Linked DNA regions of Homo sapiens: region 2 is linked to region 1. The links are contacts of gene promoters, found by promoter capture Hi-C in blood cells and fetal thymus (Javierre and others, 2016). All regions are on one chromosome and are shown on one strand. Each heading gives the region's core, a stretch centred on a gene start or on the middle of the fragment in contact. The rest is flanking DNA. Distances are from core to core; before and after follow the strand shown.

The links. The method cuts DNA at HindIII sites, captures the fragments that hold promoters and counts their contacts. A CHiCAGO score of 5 or more calls a contact.
Region 2: a contact is called between a fragment that was not itself captured here and the fragment with the promoter of COX7C in region 1, in 7 of 17 cell types (non-activated CD4 T cells, total CD4 T cells, total B cells and 4 more). The highest score is 12.7, in non-activated CD4 T cells.

What each region holds. Positions count from the first base shown.
Region 1 is chr5:86,614,543-86,619,931 of GRCh38, forward strand. COX7C (cytochrome c oxidase subunit 7C) reads left to right here and starts at 3,399. Exons shown (of 3, transcript NM_001867.3): 1 at 3,399-3,588; 2 at 4,811-4,954. The coding sequence starts at 3,514. The coding sequence ends at 4,927. RefSeq lists enhancers at 3,067-3,146, 3,158-3,823, 3,210-3,504, 3,437-3,526, 3,824-4,489. The HindIII fragment of the contact is 5,230 bases long and covers 1-5,198 here.
Region 2 is chr5:83,077,917-83,083,305 of GRCh38, forward strand. All of the region lies in intron 1 of XRCC4 (X-ray repair cross complementing 4), which reads left to right. Among named protein-coding and RNA genes, the nearest start is that of XRCC4, 3.1 kb to the left of the region's middle. RefSeq lists an enhancer at 1-525. The HindIII fragment of the contact is 343 bases long and covers 2,754-3,096 here.

The DNA.
Region 1 (5,389 bases), core at 2,149-4,648:
GGCTAAAGTCACCTGAAGGCACCTTTACAAATATATCTGATGCCTGGGCTGGGATGGCAAGAATAGCTGGGTGCTGGTAAGTCTGTCCCTTTCCCTGTCTCCCTCTCCCTACTTACCCTCTCCTTCTCCTTGTCCTTCTTCCCTCTTCTTCCCTCTCCCCTTCTGCACATAGCCTACCCCCAACCCCTGCCCCTGGTAATGTGGCTTCTCCATATAGTTAGTTTGGTTTTCCTCTTAGTCCTGAAAGTCTCTGGATAGTTAGACTTCTCACATGGTATTTGACTTCTCCCAAGAAAACATTCCAAGTTGCTAAAGAGAAGCTGCAAGGCTTTTGATGAGCTAGCCTCAGAAGTCTCAGAATGTCACTCTGTTGCATTCTATTGGTCAATCCGGTCACTAAGGTCAAGAAAAGGGATGTTAGACCCCACCACTCAATAGAAAGAATTTCCAAAAAATTGTGGCCATCTTTAATTTCCTACGATGCCTACACAAAAATGGAATATTGCTAGATTTATTTAAACTTTTTCTTCCTTCTTTAGTGAATTTGAAAGAGACCAAAATTAGCATAAAACTCCTAAACTCAGACTACATTCATTAGTTAACTAATTTATTAATTGCTTTCTACTTAGTAATTAAGAAAAAACCATATAGCAACTAGTATAAAATTTTATTTTGTGCTCAGTGTGGCTTATTGACAAAAATATTCTTTAGAAAATATTTTGAAATAATTCTCAAGAGTGTGCTCTATAGGTGGTATCTAGCCACTAATACAAAAGTCAGTAATCTGCCAAGAATGAGTGATCTCAGCCACTTTGAATCCCACTTCAATTTACCTCCTAACTTATCAGTAGCATCAAAAAGCTGCAAAGTGCATTTCTGAGTGTCTAGCATTCTCTAGAATATGCCAGCTGCTACACCACCTTCAAATGGAACCACTCTACCTCCCATACTTTCAATGTTTTGGCATGTTTGGCACATCCATCTTCATTATAGCTGAAGAACTATCACAGAAACATGACTCCAGAGAAAGATATATTTGAAGCAAAGATAATATTTTACATGATACAGCCAAATTCTCATCTACAGATTGGTAATGAGAAACTGTTTTCCTCATGGCATCTAGAAGAAAGGCTAATTTCCTTAAATAGAACAGCTGTGTTACTTCTAGTTCTCTCTTTGTTGCTCCATAAAAAACTACCCCAAACTTAATGACTTGAAAAAACAACCATTTTATTATACCACACAAATCTCTAGAACAACATTTTGGGTAGGAGTCAACTAGACAACTCTGCTCCACACAGCAGTGACTGTGGTCACTCAGCAATATTCAGCTGAGGGCGGGGCTGGGCTGAAGTGTCCAAGATAGCTTCACTCACATGCCCGGCACTTGAGTGTAACCACCACCCTCCCCCATATTTACATAGGTATAAACTTTTTTTTTTTTTTTTTTTGAGATGGAGTCTCGCTCTGTCGCCCAGGCTGGAGTGCAGTGGTGTGATCTCGGCTCACTGCACGCTCTGCCTCCCGGGTTCACACCATTCTCCTGCCCCCGCCTCCCAAGTAGCTGGGACTACAGGCGCCCGACACCACGCCCGGCTAATTTTTTGTATTTTTAGTAGAGACGGGGTTTCACCGTGTTAGCCAGGATGGTCTCAATCTCCTGACCTCGTGATCCGCCTGCCTTGGCCTCCCAAAGTGCTGGGATTACAGGCGTGAGCCACCGCGCCCGGCCAAACATATTTTTTTTTTTTGTATTTAACTTACCACAAAGCCCATGAGAAGGCAGACAGTTCTGAAACCATATTCTGGAATCTCTGCCCTGCAGGTCCCTAAAGAGTTAACTCAAAGCCAGATACCCAATGGAGGCTCAATTAATGTGAATTAGAAGCAACAATGAACCAAATCCACAGATAACATTACTCACACTAGATTGAAAAGTGTAATCTAGAAATATTAAGTGTGAAAAAGTTTCTCAATTATAGTTAAATCAGAATTCTTTAATATGTAAAGGCAGTGAACGGAATGTTAAAAAAAAATGGAATGTCACATAACTTCTATAAATTAGGTGGTAGAGGACACCAGTTATGATGCATTTCATGAACCCCTACTCAAAAAGAAGCTACTTGTTGAAACAAAATATGAATTTAAGTGTTTTTTTTAAGTGTTTTTTTGGGGGGGAGGGGCATGGTTGTTCTCTTCCAAAAACTGAAAAAAAAAAAAAAAAAAAAGACGAAAAGAGCATATATGTTATGCCCTTTTCAAAGCAAACCTTAGGTCTTATTGGAATTGTTTCCTAATGCTATATAAATGAGACACGTGAGGCAATATACACTCCCCCACAGATGAATAACATAACATTTAGGTTACCAGGGCCTTTCACAATCTAACCTAACACCACTTTCCCAGGTTCATTTATCACTGGTTTCTTCTCAATACCTTCTGGTCAAAGACCACCAGAAGCACACATGTAATTGACAAACGGGGTTTATTATTCATTGCAGTAAGGGTTCTCTGTAAAATATTAGAAAATGCTTATTGGATTTGGGATTTTTTTCTCCTAATATTGGCTACCTTACCAAATCTTAGGAGGAAGAAAGGCTAGATCAAGGCTAAGATTGTAATTGGTAAAGAAGCAGAAGTCATCAAATTAAACCAGATAGGGTGATGTCCGGTCATTTTCGTGGCTTGGACAATGTTTTATCTGTGTTCAGATGTGATTACACAGTGATCATATTCTTTTCTTAATGAACACTGTCAGAGTGGTCTTGTTGGATGCTAATGCTTGCTGAAATTGTGTACGTTCATCAGGCGGACACCAGTTCCTAGTCCAGGCTAGCTCCAGGTGTCAGAGGCCACTTTTCCCTTCTACTCCTCACACATGCTGTACTCATACCAGACTTGAGTTTTCCCTGCCCTTTGTTCTTCCTTCTTTTTTATTCGATTCCCATTATCTTTAGTGATCATTCCCTTAGCATTTCAGTTTTCTCTCTGAAGTCCTTTGTGCTGCACGTTGTTTGATTACTTGTGTTTATGCTTTGTTTCTTCAGCTAGGATCATTAGCACATATCTCTCAGCATTGGCAAAAGTCCTCGAAATCATTGACACCTAGCATATACTTTATTTTTAAAAAAGAAAGAAAGAAGAGAAAAGGGATGGGTTTATTGTCCTTTTCAACAGACTAGAGTATACGGGGTGAAACTGCTTCACTTGATTCAATAAAATCGTTTCCGGTAACAGGCCCCAGGAATCCTAGACCTAAGCCTGGCGCGAAACTACATTTCCCACAATCCTTCGGGGGCTGATAAGGCTCCGCAATGGTCTGAACTACAATTCCCACAATCCAGGGCGATTTCCGCTTTGTCGCGTTTCCTCAAGGCTCCGCCCCATTTCCCATCTTTCTTTTCAGTCCTTGCGCACCGGGGAACAAGGTCGTGAAAAAAAAGGTCTTGGTGAGGTGCCGCCATTTCATCTGTCCTCATTCTCTGCGCCTTTCGCAGAGCTTCCAGCAGCGGTATGTTGGGCCAGAGCATCCGGAGGTTCACAACCTCTGTGGTCCGTAGGAGCCACTATGAGGAGGGCCCTGGGAAGGTTAGTGTGTAAGGGGCACGGCTTCGTTGGGGGAGGGGGCGCTTGGCTGTGACTCGCGCACCTGCAAGGCCGCCTCCGGGCTGTGGCGTGGGAGATGATAGCCAGAAACCAGGCTGAGACGCAGACTAGCATTCCACTTAGCCCAAGGACCAGTGAGGAAGCTGGGCATCCTAGCGCGTAGCCGCTAAAGGAATGGGCAGGTAGATCCGGAAGCCCTGCCTCCATCAGCCACCTGACGCCCCCTCCCCCGCCCCGCAGAAAGCCCTGAGATGGCTCCGGGAGGCCACGGCTGTAGGTGTGTTGGTTAAATCCGAGCTGGAGGTCATCGGACCCGAAATGAAGGTCATTGGAAAATCATGAGGAAATCAGGGCCTCTGGTTATGGAACAGGCTTTTTAAACTAGCTGCCTAAGTTAGAAGTACTAACCCTTCACCTCAGTTAAGGCTGGGTTTGGCCTCAGGTGTAAATAACTTAAACCACATAGCAGTAACAATCTCGGAGGGTCACACGAGGCCTAGTCATAAAGGCCAGAGAAGGTGCTTGGTAATGAAAAACAAACAAACAAAAAAAACTGTGGGCCAGGTGCGGTGGCGCACGCCTGTAATCGGGAGGCTAAGGCGTTCGGATCACCTGAGGTCAGGAGTTCCAGACCAGCCTGGCCAACATGGCGAAACCCTGTCTCTACTAAAAAGTACAAAAAAATTAGCCGGACGTGGTGGTGTGTGCCTCTAATCCCAGCTACTCGGGAGGCTGAGGCAGGAGAATCGCTTGAACCCGGGAGGTGGAGGTTGCAGTGAGCCGAGATCGGGCCACTGCACTCCAGCCTGGACAGAGCGGGACTCCGTCTCAAAAAAAAAAAAAAAGAAAAAAAAAGAGCTGTATTGCACTTAACATTGCCATGTATCTTCTAAGGTGACTACTTAGGACAGTAGTTTTTTCGATTTTCTAAAGTAAGAAACTTCTCACTATTTGACGTTTGAGTCCTCAAGACCATTCATTGCCTAGTGCTTAGTAAAGCCAGATTATTTCTTGCCATGTAGTGTTTTGTGATGAAGGTCATAGGATTTGAAAGATAAATGTTTAAAACGATGTTATGATTTATGGCATATGTTAACCTGATGATGTAAAATATAACTAGCATTTCCTGTATACTTGTATTTTGATTATTAAGCAGATGATTTGAGATTCAATTTCGATTACTTTTTCTCTTTTTTTCCAACAGAATTTGCCATTTTCAGTGGAAAACAAGTGGTCGTTACTAGCTAAGATGTGTTTGTACTTTGGATCTGCATTTGCTACACCCTTCCTTGTAGTAAGACACCAACTGCTTAAAACATAAGGATGTTTCAGTTCCTCCATTTAACAGGTAGTTAGTGGATTTCTAATCATGTTAAAGCAGGCCTTTTTATTAAGTAGCCTCTTCCCCATCACCCAGAACACACACACAAATACATTGTTGTGTAGGGCTGATTCCTGAGGTTATGTGTAGATGTGGCATTGGTGGAGACTAGTTGTAAACCTATATAAAAATATTTCAATAATGGCCAGTGTTTATTGAATACTACTGCTTATCAGGTACACTTTACATCGATATCTCATGTTCTCTAGCAAGCTTGTGAGGCGGATGATAGTAACCCCATCTGAGACACAGAGATGTTAAGTTGTTCAACATCTCATAACTAGTATAATGGTGGACCAGGACTCTTGCCCAGGCAGTTTCTTGTTGCAGAACTCACACTTTTAACCAGGTAAAACTGATAAACTGATTAATGTTACTCTATCTTGAACACTGTTACTAGAA
Region 2 (5,389 bases), core at 1,675-4,174, 3.5 Mb before region 1:
GATTGGGAGGACGGTTGAATCCAGAGGGTAGTGTTGAGTAGGCTGTTTGAGCATTTCCCCAGCACTGGCCTGTCCTTTCAATCCCCAGATATTGGTAAACTGTGGGTTCCAACCAGGCATCGAGGCTGAAACGTACTAGGCAATTTGAGGTCAGGAAAGAACTTTCTGTGGTAACCAATGGGAAGGAACTGCCGTTTGCGGACTGCAGCGATTGATTAGGTACTTTAAAGAGATCAACTGGCAAGACAAATGACAAGGCAACTTTTAATCAGTAGTAGTATTTAGCTTTTTCTGATTTTAATTATCCCATTAGGTGAGGTTCTACTACACACACACGTTTTTCTTTCTGCATTTTATCGATGGAGAAACAGGCGCTTTGACATGTTTGAATTTGCGTAGTTCTTGGAATTCTAATAAAGTATTAGAAATGAGAGTTTTTCACTCTTTGCCCCCTTATGGCAAGCTTTTGGTTCTAAATGTGTGGTGTATTTTTTCTCAGGCAGGAGAGAGTTCTTTTCAGAATGTTTTCAATTTTTTATGGACTTAGAAGGTGGATAGAGAGAAAGAGAGAAGGTAACTCACGTGAGATTTTGGTTTATGAACTGTATTCGGCCTATGAGACCCTTTTGTATTTAGGGCAACACAATGATTAGAAGATTTGGGATTCTGCTATTTGTGTTTACATTGTTCACTAGGGCACACAAAGGTTTTGTTTTAAACTATAACTAACTTGATATTTGAGTCTGTTATATTGAATTGTCAAGAGTTGGTCAAATACACAAATTAGCAAGTATTTACTGGGTGCCTGCTTTATTCATGGATCTTCAGATTGCAGCATAGGAACAAAGATGGTCTGTTCCTTTAAGGAATTTAATAAGGTTGGGGGAGAGGGGAATAAGAAAGGTATTTAAAAGATACAGTACTCTCCACCTAAGGATAAAAAAAGTCTTTTAATGTTCTGTCTTGTAATTCCTTTATATTATACCTTTTAGGTCTTGCCATTCAAATTAAACAAACCTGGTTTAGTTATGGAAATTATGTTGTGCAATTTATCGAGCTTGGCTTTTAGGGCAGTAAATGTGTCTGTAGACATAACTGCCCTTGGTTTCATGTGAAGATTGTCTTGATCTTTGTTACATATAAAGGTAATACTTCTGTATGAAGCTCTGCTTCAGGCTACCTGTGAAAAGCATCAGAAAGCTTAACTTGTTAGAGATCACAATTGATTTGCTATATCTATATATTTTAATTAATTTTAGGCTATGACTTCTTATGTACCTGAGCTTCAAAACAGTAAAGAACGGCATTGCCAGTTTTTAAGTTATCTATAGAGAAACACATATGCCAATAAATGAGGCTGAACAAATATGTATAATGTTTATTGCATTTATGTAAAACATCAAAGTTAATCTGACGTGGTGAGTTTTTTTTGGGAGGTGGTAGTTTAGCTCCATTGTCTTACATAAACCCCCTACTTTTTGGTTTTCAGATTATATCACAATTTCTAAAATCTTTCTGGCAGCTTTGCAGTGAATCCTCATTTAAAACCATCTTGGATCCTTTCCTTACTAGAAATAAAATCTGTCTGTGTTATTCCTTTGTTCAAAAATTATTATTTATTTTTATTTTTGAGACAGGATCTTGCTCTGTTGCCCAGGGTGGAGTGCAGTGGCACAATCATGACTCACTGCAGCCTCAACCTCCAGGGCAGAAGCGATCTATCCTCCTCCCTCAGTATCCCCAGTAACCGGGACCATGGTTGCATGCCACCATACTTGGCTAATTTTATTTTATTTTTTGTAGAGACAGGGCTCACTATGTTGCCTAGGCTGGTCTCAAACTCCTGGGCTCAAGTGATCCTCCCGCCTCGGCCTCCCAAAGTGCTGGGATTACAGGTGTAGGCCACCGCACCACGTCTGGCCTGTTCAAAAAGTATTATCTCACCTGCATCTGGAAGAATATTTCCAACTTTGGTTTCATGGGTATATTAAAATCGTATGTAAAAATAGTGGATATTTGTAGTTTTCTGTGGCGCCAGTGCACAGGTGTCCTCAGTGTTATGAGGATTACATGAGTTATTACAAGTAAATCATCTAGGCAAATGTTTGGCATACAGTAAGCACTCAGAAAGTGTTGGCTATTACTGTGCATGGCTTTGTCTTTGCTAAATTAAAAGTCCCTGGAGAGGAGGAATTATAATGGAGGAATGGTTGAATTGCATATATTAGGCACTAAATACAGTAGTCCCTCCTTATCTGAGGTTTTGATTTCTGCAGTTTCAGTTACCCATGATCAACCACAGTCTGAAAATATTAAGTAGAAAATTCCAGCCGGGTGCGGTGGCTCATGCCTGTAATTCCAGCACTTTGGGAGACCAAGGCGGGCAGATCACTTGAGGTCAGGAGTTTGAGACCAGCCTGGCCAACATGGTGAAACCCCATCTCTACTAATATACAAAAATTAGCCAGGCGTGGTGGCATGTGCCTGTAGTCCCAGCTAGTCAGGAGGCTGAGGCAGGAGAATCAATTGAACCCGGGAGGTGGAGGCTGCAGTGAGCCGAGATTGTGCCACTGTACTCCTGCGTGGGCAACAGAGCGAGACTCCATCTCAAAAAAAAAAAAAAAAATTCCAGAAATAATGCATACATTTTAAATAGCATGCCTTTCTGAGTTGTGATGAAATCTTATTCCATCCTATCCCATTCAGCCCGGGGCCATGAATCATCTCCTTGTTTAGCGTATCCCTGCTGTATAAGCTTCCTGCCTTTTAGTTGCTTGGTTATCAGATTGATGGAGGTGGTATCACAGTGCGTGTGTTCTAGGAATACTTATTTTACTTAATTATTGCTTCAAAGCACAAGAGTAACGACGCTGGCAATTTGGTTATGCCAAAGAGTAGCTGTAAAGTGCCTCTTTTAAGCAAAAAAAGGAAAGTTCTCCACTTAATAAGGAAGAAAAGAAATCCTATGTTGATGTTGTTAAGAACTATGGTAAGAACAAATCTATCTGTAAAATTGTGAATAAGCAAAAAGAAATTTATGCTAGTTTTACTGTCACACCTCAAACTGCCAAACTTATAGCCATAGTGCATTATAAAAGCTTAGTTAAGATAAAAAAGGAATTAAATTTGTGGTTAGAAAATGTGAACAGAAGCATGCTCAGATTGAAGGCAGTTGGATTCAGCCTCCTCACGGGGCCTTGGGATATACACCCTTGGATAAGGAGAGGACTGCTATAAAAGGTTTTAGTATTAAGTTGGTATTGCATTTGTATCACCAGACCACTTTCTCCCCATTTTCTCTTTTTACTTTGTTGCTAGTGTTAATGATAGGGTTGATTTACATTACCTTTTACATTACCTACCTTTTTTCATTCACTGTTATTCACATATATTGAAAGACAATTGTTCTGCTTTTTTCCTCTTATCCTCAGCTAGCCTCCCTAACCTCAGGTAGAGGTTTTTCATGTTCCAGTGTTTGTCCTTTTTTTCTCCCCCCTTGTTTTTATTCCCTTCCCACATGGCTTTTCAATTCAGACTGAAATGTACTTGAGGACCAAAGTTAATACAGTTTTATTCTGTTAGGGATTTTTGTTAAATAAGTAGAGTTTCAGCTGCCCTTGTCACACACAAAAAATAAGATAGATGATAGGTGTTAATCTCCTTGACTAAAATAACCATTTTACTATCTGTGTGTATCCTATAATGTCAACTTGTAAACCTCAAATATACACATTAACATTTTTTAAAAAAAGAAGTTTCACCAAAAAAGACACTTCTATTTAATGTATGTCTTATTTCTTTTACCTTAAGAAATGTTTCTCTTAACCTTTCTCCATTTTCAACCCCATTTGTTTGCTCTTCTCTGCAACAAAAATCCTCTAAAGAGTTTTCTATGCTCCATGTTCCAATTCCTCTTTTTCTACCTCTGCATCTTCATTGGTATATTTAAAAGATATCTTGAACTCAGATGTCCCAGACCGAACTCCTTTCCTCCCAAACCTTTCCCATTCTTTCTCATCTGAATTGATGGCAACTTTATACAGCCAGTTGCTCAGTTAAATCTTTGGAGTCATCCTTGACTCCTTCCTTTCTCTTGTATTCCAACAAATCTGTTGGCTTTTTCTATGAAATATATCTAGAATTCAACAGTTTTCTACTATTTCTGCTATTAGTATACTGATCATCTCTTGCTCAGATTTTTGTTATTACCCACTATCATTTCTTGCCTGGATTATAGTAATTGTGTTCTGTTCTCTCTGCTTTTTTCAGTCCTTGCCTCCCTACAGTCTATTCTCATATGTCAGCCAGAGTGATACTTTTAAAATATAAATAAAAAATTGTGTATTTACATGTAAGATTCTAAATGCAATATGTTATGCTAGATTGGATCCTGAAACAGAAAGAGGTTATTAATGGAAAAACTGGTGAAATCCAAATAAAGTCTATGGTTTAGTTGATAGAAATGTATCAGTGTTGGTTTCCTGGTTTTGATAAATGCACCGTGGTAGTATAAGATGTTAATATTAGAAGAAATTGGGTGAGGGGTATATGAGAACTTTCTATTATCTTTGTAACCCTTCTGTAAATTCAGAATTATTTCAAAATAATATACAGAAGAATAAAACATTACTTTTTTGCTTAAAAACCTTTCGTGAATCATTTGATTCATAGTAGAAGCTAACAGCCTTACGTTGGCCTACAATAGTCTACATCAGTCTTGTCCAACTTACAGCTCACAGGCTGCCTGTGGCCTATGATGGCTTTGAATGCGGCCCACCACAAATTTGTAAACTTTCTTAAAACATTATGAGATTTTTTTTTTTTTGAGCCCTTTAGGTATCATTAGTGTTAGTGTATTTTATGTGTGGCCCAAGACAATTCTTCCTCCAGTGTGGCCTAAGGAAGTCAAAAGATTGGACACCTCTGCTCTACATGATCTGGTCTCCCATTACCTCTCTGACTACATGTCTTTGTATTCTCTCTCCCTTTGTTCCAGCCATACTTACCACCCTGTTTCTTAAGTACACTAGGCCTACTTCTACCACAGGGCCTTTGCACTGACTGCTGCTTCTTTCTAGAATGCTTTTGGATCCATACAGCTATTCCTTCATAGCTTTTACATGTTGTTCAAATGTCACCTTTGCAGTAAAGCATATCCCAACCTCCCTATTTAAATTGAAGCTTTGCAACTTCCATAGCCCCTACCCCTATCTCCTCCACCCTGTTTTATCTCCTCTTTTTACTTCAGCGCTTATCATTATTCTATATATGTATTACATATTTGTTACATGTATTTTTAATTGTGTTCCCCTATTAAAATGTAAAATCCATGAAGGCAGGCATTTTTATCTGTTTTGTTGTCTTATGCCACATTCTAAAGCATTTGTCT